Regions from separate parts of the Homo sapiens genome. Here region 2 is linked to region 1. The links are contacts of gene promoters, found by promoter capture Hi-C in human tissues and cell types (Jung and others, 2019). All regions are on one chromosome and are shown on one strand. Each heading gives the region's core, a stretch centred on a gene start or on the middle of the fragment in contact. The rest is flanking DNA. Distances are from core to core; before and after follow the strand shown. Region 1 holds the start of PDPN (podoplanin). Region 2 holds the start of CASP9 (caspase 9).

Region 1 (4,643 bases), core at 1,419-3,918:
ACACCTTTTGGGGGTCCTCTTGCTTCCTAAAAGCAATTTACAGACGTTTCCCACACAGTCCTGCAAGGCACAGGCACAGTGCTAGTAACAGGCTCAACTCCTGCTCTGCAATGGAAATGCATGACCCCACCGCTCCTACCTTGTAGGATCCCACACAATTTGCATGGTGGCCTCTAAACCCACAGTCCTCAAAGTGGGGACCCAGGACCAGTAGCTTCAGCATCACCTGGGAACTTGTTGGAAATGCAAATTCTTGGGCCCCACCCCTTACCTATTGAATCAGCACTTTGGCAGTGGAGCCCAGCAGTCTTGCCTTCCAGGCAAGCAAGCCCTCCAGGTGAATCCACTCTCAACCTCACTTGTGTAGGAAATGGGTATCATCAATGTTTGGAAGCCAACCGTTGTTTTGGGGCTGAAAGGAAATAGTGCGTGTTCCTGGCAGGAAGATAAAGGCCAGTATGTAGCAGCTGCTGTTATCTCACCAGTAACGCATCATCATTCATGGCCATGGCTTTCTGAGCTTAAGCTGTTTGCCAAGAATGGAGCCACATACCCTCCTTCTTTCCCTCTTCCCCTCAGCTGAGCAGGGTCTCATGCTTCCAGATCCCCTGTGTTTCACTTCAGCTCCTTTAGCTAACCGAGTCTCGCTGCCCAAGGCCCATATTCCTTCTCTCATGAGCTGCTGGCTCTATCTGGTCCAGGAGGGTGAGTTCTTTCTTCCCTCTGGTCTTCAGGTTCCCCCTCCCAAGACCCAGCTTTTCTCTCTAGGTTTTCAGACCAACAGCACCCAGAGCCGATCCACTAACTCCTTCATCCTGGCCCCTCTCCCCACCCCAGGACCCCCAGCTGAATGCAATTCCTTATTACCTCCCACTCCTCCATCCTGATCAAAAGGTCATGTGACCAACCTTCTAGATTCTAGACACATCCGGGGGTGTGGGATAGAAGGCAGGTGTCCTTGAATCATGACCTAGCCTCAGCATCCCTCTAAATTAGTTGCATGTAACCCAATCTCCCCCACCTAGGCTTCACTGTGTTTCAATCTTTTTGAATAAAGCGGGCCATCTTTCTTTCTGTGTGTGACCTTGGAGTTACACATAAGCAGAATAGATGTGCATCTATTCTCCATCTAACAGGCTCAACAGACAATGCACTATTCCTCCTGTCAACAGACATTATTGACACTAGAGTCATAAAATGCATCTCCAAGATGGGGAAGTCAGTTCAAGAAAGAGTATCTGTATCACGAGTTTTCTCTTTACATTTCCAACTCCTTGGCTCTAGGGGTGTTGCCGCTACCCCTCATCTTCTAGGTTCAGGTGCTCAGCTCCTGTTTGTAGCCCCAGGACAAGACGTTACCTGGGAGATCTTTAGAAATGCAGAATCTCTCCCTATCCCACAACAGAATTGCACCTGCATAACCAGTGCCCCAGGTAGATCTGGCTGAGAAGCTATGATGAAGGGCAAGGTTTGCCAAATGTTCATGGGGACAAGTTCTCCAGCGACACTGGTTTAAAATAGGAATTCCGAAAAGGTCTGATTAATGAGTTTGGGGTGGAACCCAGGAAACTGGGCATTTATTTAAAACAATCTCTCCTGTGATTCTTAGAAAGTAAATTTATAATGGGGAGGGGTCAAAGATAAGCATCTGAAAACAATTTTCACGCAATGTGGAGCTTTGAGACAGCGTTAGTCTTCAGGTTCTTTTGTTGAATGGAATTTGTGGCATCTGGGAGTGGAGCAGAGACCACTTCCCAAACTCCTGTTCTTATTTTTTTAAATTCCAGCAATTCAGAAGGAATTAAAGTAAAAGACGTAAGTTCTCTGGTTGCTGATATCTGGTACCTGAGATCAAGGCAAGATCGCTTAAACCAGTAAAGTGAGGATTATGGGAGCAAACTCAGGAATAAAGAGGGTGAACCAGGCCTGGAAGGGGACACAGGTTTGGCGACCAGACGGGTCACCGCTTGGCCCGGCCTAATCCAACTGCGCACGTCGGTGGGCCACAGCATCGCAGCGCTGGATCCCCGGGTCGGCAGAGGCGGATGGAGTTCAGCCTCTTTTTCAAAACTGCCAAAGCCACCCGGTCTGCCAAACTCCCCCACCAGCCAGCTCTGGGGCAGCCCCCCGGAGCCCGCCCGCTCCGGTCCCCGGGACAAGGGCGCAATTGACCAGCGCGGGCCGCCTCTGGCCCACCCAGATGACGGCCAACTTTTTTTGTTTTTAAGCCATCAAATTCAATATTTACAGGAAAAACCCCATGCTTGGTTCTAAAACTACTGGCCACTCAAGAAACAGTTTACTTCTCACTTCTGCCCATAACAAGAAAAACATAGACTTGTGCCTTACTCTTAAAAAAATAATAATAATAAATATAGGTTTTTTAAAATTTATATATAATTTTTAAAACCCCGTTTGTTGCATGTGGTCCCTTTCCCTCCTGTTGTTGAGCAGAATAAAAGCCCATTTTGCCAGGGCCCGCAGTCCTGGCGGCCCCCGCAGCTGCGGCCCTGTAACTTTAAACCTGGCCTGAGATCATCGTTTTGGCGCCGGCCAAACAGAGCCCGAGGGCGGGCCTAGCGCGCCCGGACGGAGACCACCTTGCGGCCGACCCCGCTCCCCCGCCTCCTCGGGAGAGATAAATGCTGACTCCGCTCGGAAAGTTCTCAACTGCAAAGTTTGCTGTCCGGCTGCCTAGGGTCTGGGAAGCTCGGGCACCCTCCCTCTCCGGGGCTCCTGCTCCCACCCCTCCGGCCCCCCCACCGTCGCGCTCCTCCAGGCTGGGCCTGTGGCCGCGGTGCTTTTTAATTTTCCCCCAGCTCAGAATCTTGCTGCTCGGCCCCCAGGAGAGCAACAACTCAACGGGAACGATGTGGAAGGTGTCAGCTCTGCTCTTCGTTTTGGGAAGCGCGTCGCTCTGGGTCCTGGCAGAAGGAGGTAAGACCCAGCGCAAGTGGCTTCCTGCCGTCGCTGATGGGGACGAGCGAGCAGAGACTTGCTGGAATGCCCGGGCCTGGTATTCGAGGTTGTCCAGGGGAGCGCGGGGGAGCTGAGGGTGTGTGCGTGTCAGGCGGCTGAGCGCCGGAGGAGGAGAGGCAGCGGCTTAGTCGGTGCCAGGTCCCAAAGACGCAGCTGCGCGGGTGTGCCGGGAGGAGCCCCGGAATCCACAGGCTGCGAGGTGGGCAGCACAGGGGGCCTCCCTCCGAGTCGGCAGCACCAGAGAGATCGGGTGGAAGGTTCACAGTAGGCAGCCCCGCTTGCTGGCAGCAGTGGCTGGGGTTTCCTTCCCATAGAGCGGTGTGTTGGAGGAATACGCACGCCTCGGGAGAAGCTGGCCTCGTAGAATCAGGAGGGACGTTCAGGAGGGCTTGGGCCAAGGGGAGGGTTCCCCGCCCTGCGGTGGCCCTGGTCCCCCTTGGGACTACCTAGTCTGGCGCCCTGCCTGTTGGACACACTCAGCACCCCGTCACTGGACTGGAAGAGGCCTCCTTTATCCTCTTTAGAGAGGATAGTGTGTGTGGAAAGGATCCAAGTGGAGGCTTCCGAGGAGTGTGAGTGCATGAGGATTGTTACGCGTTACGAACATTGAGGTTTAAGTGGGTTTGAGCCACGTGTTCATCTTGGGCAACAACATCAGTGGCTGAATGTCTGTTGGTGACTCCTTAGGCTTTAAATATTTTGTATCCCATGTTGGGGTGGGGGCGTCCACAGCTTCCATTACCCTTTGTCCTCTCCTGGAGCCTTACCTCTTCCCGCTGGGTTGCTGTGTTGGTGGTCTCCATTGACATCTGTCAACATTTTGTTTTCTTTTCTTGGGTTTTTATTTTTATATTTCCTCAATAGAACATATGTTCTGCAGGACGCAGCTACATCCAGCCATGATTCCCCACGGCCAAAACAATGCCTGGCACATAGTAGTTGCTCACTAAATGTTGGTTGAAGGAATTGTAACCTAACTCGTGATCTTTGGGGCTGGAGGTTGCTGAGTTATGCTGTGAAAAGTAAACATTTTCCAAAAATTGAGGATCAAGGTAGGCCTAGGCCCTGAGGAATACTTCTTGGAGAGGGAGCGGTTTGCAGGAGGGGTGCGCCTAACCTGGCCTCCTACAATGGTCCACACAGACAAAAATACCCAATCTCAGGGAAATGACAGAGTTCTGCTCTATGCTGTGCTGTCTGCTTCAAAGGGACTGAGCAACTCTTTTTATAGGGGCCGTGGGTTATTCGTAGCAGTCCTATCTTTGGAACTTCTCTTTCCACTGGAATATATACAGTTCTGTATTTTCAGTTACATTTCCTTTTTGGCGAGACAATGTGCAAATGACACCGTTTTGTGCTCACCAGGGCAAAGCAAGGGAGCGCCCTCACTTCAGCATCTCAGCCCTGCTAAAGAAAAAGCTGCTGGGTAACATCCTTTGTTTTTGCCCAGGGAAGCTTTAGCTGTGATTCCCTTCAGCCGGCTCCTGAATGTCAAAGGTACTCCTAAAAGATGGCGTTAAAACCGAAAAACCATCGTTGGTGCTGGAAACTCCACTACTAAAGAAAGAAGTGGTATGCGGGGCTGGCTGAGTGAGGGTGGGTGCTGAGTTGCCTGGCTGCCAGAGGAGCAGAGGCCCAGCAGGGTTTTTGTCTGAGAATAATGA
Region 2 (4,643 bases), core at 1,420-3,919, 1.9 Mb after region 1:
GAAGAAAACGCTGACATATGCTGCCTTCTCTCTCTGCTTCAGCTACCTAAAAGGGAAGGGCCCCCTGTCCTATGATCACGTGACTTGCTTCACCTTATCAATCACTTAGAAGATTCACCCTCCTTACCCTGTCCCCTTGCCTTATATCCAATAACAGCGCAGCCAGGCATTCGGGGCCACTACCCTGTCTCCACGTCTAGGTGGTAGTGGTCCCCCGGGCCCAGCTGTCTTTTTTTCTATCTCTTTCTCCTGTGTCTTTATTTCTACGATCTCTCATCTCCGCACACGAGGAGAAAAACCCACAGGCCCTGTAAGGCTTGACCCTACCAATTTTTAGTTTTATTTAATTTTAATTACTTCAAATTTACCTTTAACGACATGTGGCTAATGGCTACTGTTGGGAACAGCACAGACCTACAGTGCCACTGAGAAGGTAAGTCTCACTAGCAGAACAGTTGGCTACATGCAAATAGATGGTGGTGTTTAGGTTTCTCTCCACATTTGCTGAACACTCCAGGAGGTCAACACTGTGTTAAATGCATTGTTTCATCTTTTTCTCCCTCAATAACTTTATAGAGTTAAATTAGAACTTCCCAACTTTTTAGGGTAAAAAATTTCAGGGAAACTGAGTCATAGGGTTTTTCTGTTTGTTTGGCTCATTGGTTGTGGTTTTTTACAACTTGCTAATATGTAACAAGGCCAGGATGAGAGCCCAGATCCAACTGGTTCCAAAACCTGCCTGTTTTTCAGCCATACTGAATGGCAAAATGGCAACCTGTGGTTCCCACAAGGTTCTTAAAAAATTTCTGAATTTGTTGCTAACATTTTAAGCCAGGGAATTTGACAGAGGAATCAAGATTTTCAGCTTCTTTTTTAAGATGTGAAAGCTGGGCCGGGTACAGTGGCTCACACCTGTAATCCCAACACTGAGGCAGGAGAATCACTTGAGGCCAAGAGTTTGAGACTCATCTAGGCAACATAGCAAGACTCCTATCTGTACAAAAAAAAAATTTTTTTTAATTAGCCAGGCATGGTGGCATGTGCCTAAAGTCCCAGCTGCTCTAAAGGCTGAGGCAGGAAGACCACTTAAGCCCAGGAGGTCAAGGTCGCAGTGAGCCATGATCTCATCCCTGCACTCCAGGCTGGGCAAGAGTGAGACCCTGCCTCAAAATAAGTGTAAGATGTGGCAATACTGGGCCATTTGTTGATATGGCCATACTCAGCTGGAGACGGAGGGCAGTGCAAAGGCTATCCACTATGACGCCCATCCATTGGTCCTCCATGGGCATTTGAGTTTGTGATCCCCGTGAACATTCCTGAAGGCAAGGACTGTGGCCTCAAACCATTACTGTTCCCCAGTAGGGGCCACACAGAAGGCACAAAACTTATTTTATTATTAATGAATAATTACTCATATGATACTCAATTATTTAAAGACTCTTTCCCTGGGCCAGGGCACTGGCCAGGGATATCCAGCCAGCCACTCACACCTACTGCACCTCATGGTAGGAAATATCTCCTGCATCCTCACAGGCCTGTGATGAGGGTCAAATGAGACAAAGATGGGAAAGTGCTTTTAAACAAAACCTCAAATGTTTGACTTCATTATTCTCCATTCTGCATCAGGTCCCCTCATTTCCAAAACCTCTTAACAAAACATAAACTGAACACAGAAGGGGCTGGCCAAAGAGGGCAGGGTACGCTGATCCCCCGCTCTGTGCCTAGCACTACAGTTTCACATCCGTTATTTCATTTAGTCCTTATGACAGTATTATTCTTATTCCCATTTCACAGCCCAGAAACTGTGGCTCAAAGAGGGTAAGTGACTGGCCCAAGAACACGCTGCCAGGCAGCCTGATGCCAAAGTGGGTTCCCGAAACCTCTATGCTAGAAAAGTAAAAACGCACACGCCTCCTTCCTCGCAAGTATTAACGTAAATTAAAATGGAGACCAACCATGAAGAATTCCTGAGCAGACAAAACCAATCAGGTATCCTAAGTGACCTAAATCTTGCTTAAACTGCAAACATAAGCAAAATTTAACTTGGGTCATATCTGATAAATGCTTATGTTAGAGAGAAATAAAACTTAAGACCAGCCAAAAGCAGTCAATTAACAGACCTTAAAAAAAAAAGGCAATTTTGTAACTGCAAACCAATCAAATAATTTCTTTATTTTGCTTCCACATTTTCCCAATAAATACTTGCCTCTGACGTTTTGTCATTGCAACACTAAAGCTCTTTCAGTCTGATGTTCTCCAATTCATGAATTGTTTCTTATTCAAAGTTCTCAAGATGTGTCTCACATTTTTCCTTTACACAAGAAACACAAGCACTAACAGTGTACGCTGACTGAGTATGGCATGGAATCGCTTTAGCGAACACCCGACTAAGAGGTGTTTGGGATTCTTTGGCTCCGCTGAGGGGTTTGAAGCCACAGGGAAGGCTAGGCTCCCGCACAACGCCTCCTCGAGGGGCGTGGGGACCCGGCCGTGCAGCGCGGGGACAGGGGGCCGGGGGCGCACCTGGATGTCCTCGATCATATGGGGCCTGAACAGCTCGCGGCTCAGCAGGGCGTCCCAGAGCTGGTCCACCTGCAGCTCTTCCACCAGCCGCAGCCGGCACCGCCGCAGGAGCCGCCGATCCGCTTCGTCCATGGCGAGTAGCCAACTAAGACTCCAGGCCGCCTCAGTCCGCTTCCGGGCCTCGGCCGCCCGCCCCAGTCCCCAGGACCCGCCCCCGCCCCAGGGCCTGCCCCCGCGTCACGGCCCCGGGTCAGTCTTCGCTCCCCACCGCCTCCGGACGCATCTCCAAGGCCTCGCCCCGCCCCCAGGAGTCGCTCTTGCGTCACCGCCCCGCCCTCAGGACGCACCTCTGCGCCTCGCCCCGCCCCCAGGGCCAAGCCTCCCATCACCGCGCCGCCCCAGAACACGCTCCGCGTCACCGCCCCGCCCCAGAACCCGCCCCACGTCACCGCCCCGCTCCAGAATCCACCACTGCGTCCCCGCCCCAGAACCCGCCCCGTATCCCCGCACTGACCTCACGTCACCGCCCCGCCCCCGCGTTACCGTCCCGCCCGCAGGACGCATCTCCAACGCCTCGCCCCGCCCCAAGGATTCGCTCTTGCGTCACCGCCTCGCCTTCAGGACGCCTCCGCGCCTCGCCCTGTCCCCAGGGTCAATTCTGGGGTCACCGCCTGTCCCCAGAACCTGCCACCGCGTCACCGCCCACTCCCCGGGACGCATCTAGAAGGTCTCGCCCCGCCCCCAGGATTCGCTCTGCGTCATCGCCCCGCCCTCAGGACGCACCTCAGCGCCTCGCGCCGACCCCAGAATCCATTCCGCGCCACCGCCCCGCCCCCAGGATTCAACCCACGCCCCCACCCCGCCCCCAAGGTCAATCTTGCGCCACCGCCCCGCCCCCAAGGGCTAGCCTCGTGCCACCGCCCCGCCTCCAAGAGCCAATCCCCTCCCCTCGCTCCACCCTCAGAATCGTCCTTGCGTCACCGCTCAGCCTCAGACTCCAGTTCGCACTCTCGCCCCGCCCCCAAAGTCAATCCTCACCCCCAGGATCCATCCTTCTGTCACCGCCCCGCCCCAAGGCGGCACCTCCGCGACTCGCCCCGCCCCCAGGGCCCCGCCCCGCCCCCGCATCACCTCCCCACTCCGGGCGCAGGTGCCCTTTTGCAATTCTGGCACCAGTTCCTGGTCCACCGCGGGCCCTTCGCCAGAATTCACTATAGCCCCGCTTTTACAGAGATCCGGAGGGAGTCGTCACACTTCCAGCAAGAGGGAAACCATGAGTGGAGCCGTGATCTGTCCCGCCCATTCAACCTCCTCCGGGGCATGGCTTCCCCTTAGCCCCCTCCTCCACCCCAAGTAAAACCATAAGCTCCCCTCACCGCCCTTGTGCCCAGATCGCAGTTGACTGTTCCAAACTCGAGTGTCTGATCCAACCAAGCCCACCTTACACAGTCTTCCATTCCCTCTTCCCTCCCTCCCACCCTAACACCTCCCACACAGAAAAAAAAAAAAACGGCAGAAATCTAGTCCTGTAAACTCCCATCGTTCTGAACGGTTCATTTTCACATTTCAAAAATAATCGTTTCTGTTTACTGAGCATTTGCTAAGTCCCAGGCATCGTGCTAGCCACTTTTCATGCTTATTTCACTTATCCTTAACTACAATCCTGCCAGGAAAGTATTCCCACCCCCCGCCGGTTTTACAGATGTAGACCCTAGGGTTCAGGGAAACGAATGTTTAAGGTCACTTGGGTACTAAGTGGCCGAGGCAGGCAGGATTGAAACCCGAACCTGACTCTGTAAGCCACACTCTTAAGAATCCACCTTAGAATATAATCTCTTGAGCACCAAAACCTCAGCCCCATTCGTTCACTTCTACGAATATTTATTGAGCCTGTAGTCAAACACTAAGAACATGAAGGTGAACAAAACAAAATCCCTGCTTTTAGAGTTTACATTCCAGTGGAAGGATCAGGTGATAAACTATATCAATAAATAAGACATACTATGTTAGATAGTGATAAATGCAAAGAGAAAAAAATAAAAACAAGACAGGGAGATATGAAAGCTCTTTATATCCGCAAGGGATCTATCTCATTGGCTCAAAGAAAGTTTCCTTCACTT

Evidence for each region. The method cuts DNA at HindIII sites, captures the fragments that hold promoters and counts their contacts. A contact is called where the count stands out against the background at its distance.
Region 2: a contact is called between the fragment with the promoter of CASP9 here and the fragment with the promoter of PDPN in region 1, in 1 of the 25 tissues and cell types used here (neural progenitor cells).

The regions. Positions count from the first base shown.
Region 1 is chr1:13,581,164-13,585,806 of GRCh38, forward strand. It overlaps PDPN (podoplanin), which reads left to right and starts at 2,669. Exons shown (of 6, transcript NM_006474.5): 1 at 2,669-2,937. The coding sequence starts at 2,871. RefSeq lists an enhancer at 2,572-3,110. The HindIII fragment of the contact is 13,144 bases long and covers 1-4,643 here.
Region 2 is chr1:15,521,546-15,526,188 of GRCh38, forward strand. It overlaps CASP9 (caspase 9), which reads right to left and starts at 2,670. Exons shown (of 9, transcript NM_001229.5): 1 at 2,524-2,670. The coding sequence starts at 2,655. RefSeq lists silencers at 2,640-3,029, 3,310-3,749. The HindIII fragment of the contact is 36,637 bases long and covers 1-4,643 here.